Regions from separate parts of the Homo sapiens genome. Here all the other regions are linked to region 1. Evidence: promoter capture Hi-C in 16 types of primary human blood cells and fetal thymus (Javierre and others, 2016). All regions are on one chromosome and are shown on one strand. Each heading gives the region's core, a stretch centred on a gene start or on the middle of the fragment in contact. The rest is flanking DNA. Distances are from core to core; before and after follow the strand shown. Region 1 holds the start of SF3B4 (splicing factor 3b subunit 4). Region 2 overlaps LOC124904413 (a long non-coding RNA gene). Region 3 overlaps LOC124904413 (a long non-coding RNA gene).

Evidence for each region. Contacts are between HindIII fragments. The CHiCAGO score rates a contact against its expected background, and 5 or more counts as called.
Region 2: a fragment that was not itself captured here is called in contact with the fragment with the promoter of SF3B4 in region 1 in 7 of 17 cell types (erythroblasts, M1 macrophages, endothelial precursors and 4 more); the score reaches 9.8 in erythroblasts.
Region 3: a contact is called between a fragment that was not itself captured here and the fragment with the promoter of SF3B4 in region 1, in 2 of 17 cell types (M1 macrophages and erythroblasts). The highest score is 5.7, in M1 macrophages.

Annotation. Positions count from the first base shown.
Region 1 is chr1:149,926,553-149,929,411 of GRCh38, forward strand. SF3B4 (splicing factor 3b subunit 4) reads right to left here and starts at 1,251. Exons shown (of 6, transcript NM_005850.5): 1 at 1,174-1,251; 2 at 614-742; 3 at 1-366. The coding sequence starts at 1,207. MTMR11 (myotubularin related protein 11) reads right to left here. Exons shown (of 17, transcript NM_001145862.2): 17 at 2,099-2,765. The coding sequence ends at 2,577. RefSeq lists enhancers at 1,048-1,427, 2,562-2,631. The HindIII fragment of the contact is 3,542 bases long and covers 1-2,859 here.
Region 2 is chr1:150,047,986-150,050,844 of GRCh38, forward strand. LOC124904413 (a long non-coding RNA gene) reads left to right here. Exons shown (of 3, transcript XR_007066598.1): 2 at 81-145. It also overlaps a transcript of OTUD7B not described here. Among named protein-coding and RNA genes, the nearest start is that of VPS45, 18 kb to the right of the region's middle. The HindIII fragment of the contact is 428 bases long and covers 1,188-1,615 here.
Region 3 is chr1:150,031,631-150,034,489 of GRCh38, forward strand. The region is part of intron 1 of LOC124904413 (a long non-coding RNA gene); the gene reads left to right. It also overlaps a transcript of OTUD7B not described here. Among named protein-coding and RNA genes, the nearest start is that of OTUD7B, 22 kb to the left of the region's middle. The HindIII fragment of the contact is 2,863 bases long and covers 49-2,859 here.

The DNA of each region.
Region 1 (2,859 bases), core at 1-2,500:
CATAAGATACGGTGATAGGACGGTTACAGAGGTACTGCCCATTCATGGCTTCAATTGCTGCATCCGAAGCATCAAATGAAGCAAAATTAATAAAGGCATAACCTTTGGAGTTGCCTGTGTCAGGGTCCCGCATAATTTTGGGGGTTTGTAAGATGACCCCAAAGGCGCTGAAAGTATCATAAAGCAACTTCTCATCAATCTCAGGGTCCAGGTTCCCAATGAAAATGTTGGCCCCTACATCCAGGTTTTTGTTGTGAGCTGATGCTTTGTTCACCCGTATTGGCTTCCCATAGAGTTTGATCATGTTCATGATCTTAATGGCATAGTCAGCATCTTCCTCACTCAAGAATTCCACAAAGCCATAGCCTGGAAAAGTGGAGAAGAGGAGGTTAACAACGTAAGTAAAGAGACTGAAAATGGGGTAAAATTCATCTACCCTCTAATCACAAAGAACAAGAAAGAAACAACATCACTTTACTTAAGAATGGTTCCAGAAATAAACTGAAGAGAGGCTTAAAAGAAAAAAATCTTTAGGTTGCTCATGTTATTCCAAAACAGTTGTGAATACTGCTGGGACCCTCCGGGAGCAATTCGCCCCTTGTCATGTACTCACCTTGGTGCTGGCCAGTGACTCTATCCTTTGGCATGTGGGTGTTGACTACTGGTCCAGCCTGGAGAAACAGTTCCCACAGCAGCGGTTCACTAACCTTCTCATCCAGGCCCCCCACGTACACAGTGGCATCTTGAAGGGAGGGAGCAAAAAGAGCAAGCGTGAGAGTGTAACGGGAAGGAAGGAAGTGATGGAAACATGAAGATGGAACCCAACCAGGGGAACTGGGGACCGCGGTAGGGGACAGGAGCAAAAAAAAAAGTTTAAACCCTTAAACTTCTCTCTTCCCAGGACTTCGGGAATCCTCTGAAGTCTAATTTAGTATTGTGAGTGGGTTTTTTTGATTTTTTGAGTGAGAAGTCAGCAGGGGACCGGACTTAAGTATCACACCCAGAGGCCTCAGCCAGCACCCGGCCACCCCGCCCCCAACAGGCAGAGGGCCGGTCTCGCGCCCTCTGGGGAAGGGAGGAGTCCAGTCTCCCACCCCTGCAGAGACACTGCTGGCTGTAGTCGGGGCCTCCTAGCCACGCTGAGCCCATTCCAGACTTTCCCCCTCCAGTTACCCTGATTCCGCTCGGAGATCGGCCCGGCAGCCATGGCGAAAGAGATCCCGCCGTCTCCCAGCAGCGGTTCCGCCTTCTGACCTCAGCACGACTTCCACTTCCGGGGCGAAGACGGACGTAGCGGTGGGCGGGGCCGCGGAAGAGGAGGTGCCTGGAAGCGGCTGCAGCCATCTTAGGAGCCTCCGAAACTTAACCTGGGTCGGGCGGTAGAGTCCTCGGCTCGCGTCCTGAGGTGCCGCTGCTAGTTGTCTTAGCGAGGAGGGCGGAACGGAAACGCTCAGGCCCTCTTAATGCACTGCTAGACTTGAAAGAATCACACTGCTCTCAAAAGTGTAAATTCGAAAGCTAAAAGAACAAAAATTTCAGTTTTAATATATTTTGTGGACAGTGATTCTTCTTCTGTTGTCCAGAGAAGGATGTGCTGAAGAGTTCCCCCCAACCCGAGGACTTGGGGGCTTTCAGGCGCAGAGGGAGCCTTCCCTCTCGCCTGCAGCCTTCTTGCAGATTTGGCCTCACAACCCTGATTTGGGCTGGAGGTATTTGGTTTTCCCTCAGGGGAGGAGACTGCGAAATGTCTGAGCTTAGAGTGACGTCTGCGCTCACCTCGTCCTAATTGCATGGGGAGGGTGAGGGCTGCTCCGCGTTGGTGTGTGACCACAGCTGAGGGGTGGATGGGATCGGAGCTCTAGAGTCTGGATCTCTAGAACACTCTGGCCCCATCTGCCTCTAAATGGGAGACACACACAAGAGAACCCTTTCCCCAAATTGCACTTGAATTTTGCAGAGCCTCACCAAACCCAGTTCCCCTATTTCCTTAGCAATAATATGGTGGATGCCTTCCTCTCTTGGGTCATACACCCCTTTTACCCACCACTTTCCTACCTAGGAGAATCCTTTATTCAAACACAAGAAACAATGCCAGCAATGTGTATAAATACTATGCTTTAATGAGCCCCTTAAATAGAAATTCCACTACAAAAATACAGAGGAGATAGGGTGTTTCCTGTATCCGCCTCATTCCCATAGAAAACTATAAGGGAAGAAATAGAACTTGGAATTAAAGCAGCAGCAAGGCGAGGTGAGAATGCGATTTCTAGGCCATCTTGTTGGGACTGATGAACAGCATCTCTGATCTCATGATTTAACATCTGGTTATCCAGAAGGGATGGGATTGGCCTAAAAAAACCGATCAATTTCTGGATTGTTTTTGTTTCTTAATCCTTCAAATGACAAGAAGCAAAAATATTTGTAGAAACTAAGCAAGACAAGAGTTGGAGCAGTTAACACCACTATCTGCAGCAGAAACTCAGACCTTCTTAGTGAACTTAAGGGCTGAAGTGTGAAAGCTGAGGCTGCAAGTGCAGATACAAAAAAAAAAAAAAAAGATTAGACAGAACCCTCCTCTACCCCAGATCCCCCTCTGCCCTGCCTTTGAGAATGCCAGCAATTTCAGTGGGATTGAGAATGGTATGTGGATCTCTTTTCTTGGAGTGATCCTCAGGAGATATTCTTGGTGTCCATTTCCGTAATAACTCCTGAAGATGGGATAGCTCATCCTGGAGGCCAGAGATTGTGGGAGCTGAGAGGCCCATCTGGGGAGGAGGCAAAGAGGAACAGAGAAGAATACTGTTGTAGCTCTGGCCCCCTGCTTCTCTGCTACTTCTGGTGTCTTTAATTCTGTTTCCC
Region 2 (2,859 bases), core at 152-2,651, 120 kb after region 1:
AATTAAAAATAGGGAGCATTCAATTAAACATTCACATAATAACTACACAATTATTCTCTTTACTTCTTTCCTACTTTAAGCCTTGATGCCATCACTACTTCCAGAAAAAAAAATAGTTCCTAAATATCCCACAGAAGAAAACAAGGTAATGTTAATATAAATACTCTGCCCCTACATTTATGCAGTCTTCCCTCATATTTTTGATAAATTCCACACCCTTCCACCAGAAGTTAAAGAAAGGAGACGTATCCTCCCACTTTCGGAAATGCTTTAACCAAAATTAAAGAGAGAATGAACAAGCTATCCGTAGGAACCCATTCATCGATAGAAAGGAAAAACATTTCCTAAGAAATGTCAGAGACAAATGACTCTGGATCTAACACCATTTGGGGGGTTTCATACCATTGCTAACACAGAGACATAATATTATTAGATTTATATTAATAAGGCTGAGTGTAGTGGCTCATACCTGTAATCCCAGAACTTTGGGAGGCCAAGGCAGGAGGATATCCTGCTTGAGGACAGGAGTTCAAGACCAGCGTGGGCAAAATAGTGAGACCCGATCTCTACACAAAATAAATAAATAAAATTAGCACAGTGAAAGGATTGCTTGAGCCCAAGAGTTCAAGGCTGCAGTGAACTATGATTGTACCACTGCACACCAGCCTGGGGAAGAGAGTAAGACCTTGACTCTTAAAAAAAAAAATTGTATTAATACACTACTTCCAGAAATTAAACAAGACATACACAGTATGTGGATATAAACAAAGAAAATGATTTCCATGTACAAAACATAAAACTCATAGATTAATAACTCAAGTTTCCTAGTCTATTTTCTTATTTTGTTTCATTAAAAAAAAAATTTGAGACGGAGTCTCACCCTGTCACCCAGGCTGGAGTTCAGTGGCATGATCTCAGCTCACGGCAACCTCTGCCTCACTGGTTCAAGCAATTCTCCTGCCTCCGCCTCCTGAGTGGCTAGGATTACAGGCGCCCGCCACCACACTCGGCTAATTTTTGTATTTTTTTTTCAGTAGAGATGAGGTTTCACCATGTTGGCCAGGCTGGTCTCGAACTCCTGACCTCAAGTGATCCGTCTGCCTCAGCCTCCCAAAGTGCTGGGATTACAGGTGTGAGCCACCATGCCCCGTCTACTTAGAGGTCTAGTAAACTTAAATCAGTTCTGAAGCTTTTCCAGACAGTAGTAGTAAAATACACTATAAATCAGATTACCTGGTTCTCAATTCAATGTTCTTTTCATTCTGTCATGCTGCTCTCTAAATTTGAGTGTTCTCTTGACCAGGAATTAAATTATTCTCTATATCTGAGTTGAAACTACTATATCACCAGGAAATAAAAAAGTCTAACTTCCCAATATTATTCCTAAATTAAATCGTGGTTAGTCAGGATGTTGCTATATACTTTTAATAATAACTGAAAATTGAAGCAGAAAAAACCCCAATTCACTATGACTTGTATATTTTGTGCCATGAACAGAGGAAATTGTCATTTACAGTATAATTTTCTGGGCATAGGCATGGATTCCGGTGTTCACATCCCCAAGTTCAAATCTCAGTTTTGTCACTTATTAGGGGACATTATCTTAATGTCTCTAAGCTTTTATTTTCCTTCTCTCTCTCTCTCTTTCTTTTTTTTTTTTTTTTTTTGAGACAGGCTGATTACAGGCTCGACCTCCTGGGCTCAAGCAATCCCCCTGCCTCAGCCTCCCGAGTAGCTAGGACCACAGGTGCAAACCACCACGCAATTAATTTCTGTATTTTTTATAGAGATGGGTTTTACCATGTGCTCAGGCTGGTCTTGAACTACTGGGCTCCGCCTTGGCTTCCCAAAGTGCTGGAATGACACAAATGAACCACCGTGCCCAGCCCTATTTTCTCATTTTTAAAAAAGAAAGGTTATTGTTTCAAAATATGTTGTACATGAGGCCAGGTGTAATGGCTCATTCCTGTCATCCCAACACTTTGGGAGGCTGAGGCAGGAAGGTAGCATGAGCCCAGGAATTCAAGACCAGCCTAGGCAGAACAGTGAGACCCCCATCTGTACAAAACTTTTAAAAAAATTCTCCAGGCATGGTGTTACGTGCCAGTAGAGGCTGGAGGGTCACTTGAACCAGGGAGGTCAAGGCTGCAGTGAGCCATGATTGCGCCACTGTACTCTAGCCTGGGCAATCCAGGGAGACCCTGTCTCAAAAAAAAAAGCATGCTTTACATGATAAATATTACAATTTTTGCCAATTAAAAATAAATATTTATCTCTCATATCCCAGGAAATCAAGTAAAAATAAATAAAAGAAATAAATGAATAAAATTTAAACAATAAAAAGAAGATAGCACTACTACTTATGTCTTTGAGTTGTGAGAAAAATGCACAGAAAGTACTTAGCACATGGCCTAACACATATATATATTCATAGTGACAGATACACTACTGTCAATTGCAGTCAGACATGAATGGAAATCATAATCAGATTCTCACCTTTCAAACTTTAGATGTGACTTCATAGTAATTCAACAAATCTTCCAAGTCCAGAACACCTGTTGATTTGAATCTTACAGCAATTACTTTTATCTAGTCTTTAAGAAATGAAAAAATAATGTAACAGCAAACTCATGCAGTGACTCAATAAATTTAAAGCCATAAACAGGCTAAATCCAACACTAAACAAGCATTTTGCAATCTATTTTAGCCAAAACAATGCATTTTCCCTCATTCACATAACAATTACTCAGTATGCCAGCTCCCAGTGTTACAGAGCCTGTTCTTGGTGATTCAAGGGCGCCCTCTGTCTGAGTGCTGAAAAAATCCAAACCCAAATTTAAAACTATGTAAAAACATGCT
Region 3 (2,859 bases), core at 230-2,729, 110 kb after region 1:
TTGGTTTTAATATAGCATAGTAGTTAAGAGCCCAGACTCTGCTGCCTAAGCTTGAATCCCAGCTCTACCACCTTCCAGCTCTTTGACCTTGGGCAAGTGACTTAACCTGTCTATGTCTCAGCTTTATCATCTGTAAAGCAGAGATAGTGATAGTACCTATTATTGCTATGAGAATTAAATGAGCTAACATATGTGAAGTGCTTAAAACACTCTCTGGCACATAATAAGGTCTATGTTAAGTATTTGCTATTATTGTTTTGGCAAATATCCTTCCAGATAGATAAGACAGACCAACAGAGAAGAGATATAACTATAAACACACATACTTTAAAAAGTATTGGAACCATTCTTTACCTATGTTTTCTTATTTGCTTTTGTCACTTAAAAGCACACCATAAGGCCAGGCACGGTGGCTCATGCCTGTAATCCCAGCACTTTGGGAGGCTGAGGCGGGTGGATCACTTGAGGTCAGGAGTTCGAGACCAGCCTGGCCAACATGGTGAAACCCCGTCTCTACTAAAAATACAAAAAATTAGCTGGGCATTGTAGCACACACCTGTAATCCCAGCTACTCAAGAGGCTGAGGCAGGAGAATCGCTTGAACCCGGGAGGCGGAGGTTGCAGTGAGCCGAAATCCCGCCATTGCACTCCAGCCTGGGCAATAAGAGCGAAATTCTGTCTCAAAAAAATAAAAGAAAAAAAAAAGCACACCATGAGGCCAGGCATGGTGGCTCAAGACTGTAGTCCAGCACTTTTGGCGGCTAAATTGGGAGGACTGCTTGAGCCCAGGAGTTCCGAGACTAGCTTGGGCAACATAGCAAGAACCTGTCTACAGAAAAAAAAAAAAAAAAAAAAATAGCCAGGTATGGTGGTGCATGCCTGTAGTCCTAGCTACTTGGTAAATTGAGGTGGGAGGATTGATTGAGACCAGGAGTTTAAGGCTGCAGTGAGACATGATCTTGCCACTGTACTCTAGCCTGGGCGACAGAGCAAAATCCTGTTAAAAGAAGAAAAGAAGAAAAGAAGAGGAAGAAGAGGAGGAAGAGGAATAAGAAGAAGAAGAAGGAGGAGGAGGAGGAGGAGGAAGAAGAAGAAGAAGAAAGTATACCATGAGTATCTTCCCACATTTTAAAATTCTTCAACAGTAGATGTTTCAAACTGGTAAACCTGTGGATAGAATTTAATCGTGTCTTGGCCAAAACAGTATTCTTTTATAATGTAAATTAATGCCTCCACGTGGAATATAAACTCTCCAGTTCACCACCGTCCTCACCAATCCCTAGTGTCTTCACACATATACTTTACTTGCTAAACAACTGAAGGCATTTGAGTTTTTAACCCCCAACATAATTTTTAGTAACTGCATATTATCTTATTACATGACTAGGACATTCTGTAATTACTCAGTTTCCATTGTTAGACATTTAACTTTTTTTTGACCCACTATTATAAATAATGCTGGGAAGAACATCTATAAATCTTTGTTATACTTATTTTCTACATCTCTTTTCCTAAAAATAAAAATGCTGGGTCAAAGTCTGAATGCGTTTAAGACCTTTAATATGTATTGCTCAATTACCTTATAAAAAAATTGTACTACTGTACATTTCTACCAGCCCACTTTTCTGACGTTATTGATATCTGTATTATCACTTTTAAAACTTTTGCCCAAAAAATCTAATAATAAAATAATATACATCTTTTAAATATGGCCTTTTGAGGACAAAATATTCTTCCCTCCAGCCTCCCAAACTCATTCTTTTCCCTGCTGCCCAGACAACTAAGTGAAATAGTTGGAGGAAGGCAATAATCCTAACTATAGCCATCAATATTATCCTTAACATCAACACTTCAATATTATCCAGTGTCTTTATGTCACAAAGAACTTGCCAGTGGTAAAAAAGAGGAGTTAAAATATAGGATATTTTTAGTCTCTGCTAATCTCTACCATGTAGTGTTAACAGTAACAGTAGTTATCATCTACTGCTCATTTTACTATGTTTAAGCACCGTAGCAAGCATTTTGCCTTCATTCATCCTCACAACAATACATACTAATATTATGACATATTATCAATATTAGTATGTACTATACATATTAATAATTTTTTTTGAGATGGAATCTCGCTGTCACCAGACTGGAGTATAGTGGCGCGAACTTGGCTCACTGCAACCTCCACCTCCCAGGTTTAAGCGATTCTCCTGCCTCAGCCTCCCAAGTAGCTGGGACTACAGGTGTGCGCCACCACACCCAGCTAATTTTTGTATTTTTAGTAGAGACCAGGTTTCACCATGTTGGCCAGGATGGACTCAATCTCTTGACCTTATGATCCGCCCACCTCAGCCTCCCAAAGTGCTGGGATTACAGGCGTGAGCCACCGCACCCAGCCTAATAATATTATTTTAAGAATTATAATGGACAACACTGAGGATCACACAGGTTAAGGAGACTTGTTTAAAGTTACATGATAAGTGGCAAAGCCAGGATTCAAGCCCAAGCTAGTTTAACTCCAAAACCATGACATTAGAATGTCTCTAAGCAGTTATTACTAATAAATCTGTTTCATTTAGTACTTTTAATTTCTCAAAAGACTTTCATATACATAGTTTGGCCCTAATAAGTCTGTGGGATATGATTAAAGGTATTGGGATCAATTCTAGATTAGGGAACTAAGGCAAAGTCTGCTCCAATATAATAATAAACACATGTCCATTGCTGCCTATTAGGGTCATAACCAGCACCATACCTGCAGTTAGAACTCAAAAATTACTCACATAAGCACTTTAAGTTAGATGTAGATGACAGCCCTATAGATATCACACACACATAGTTTCTGCTAGCTGCAGCAAGAATGCCAGT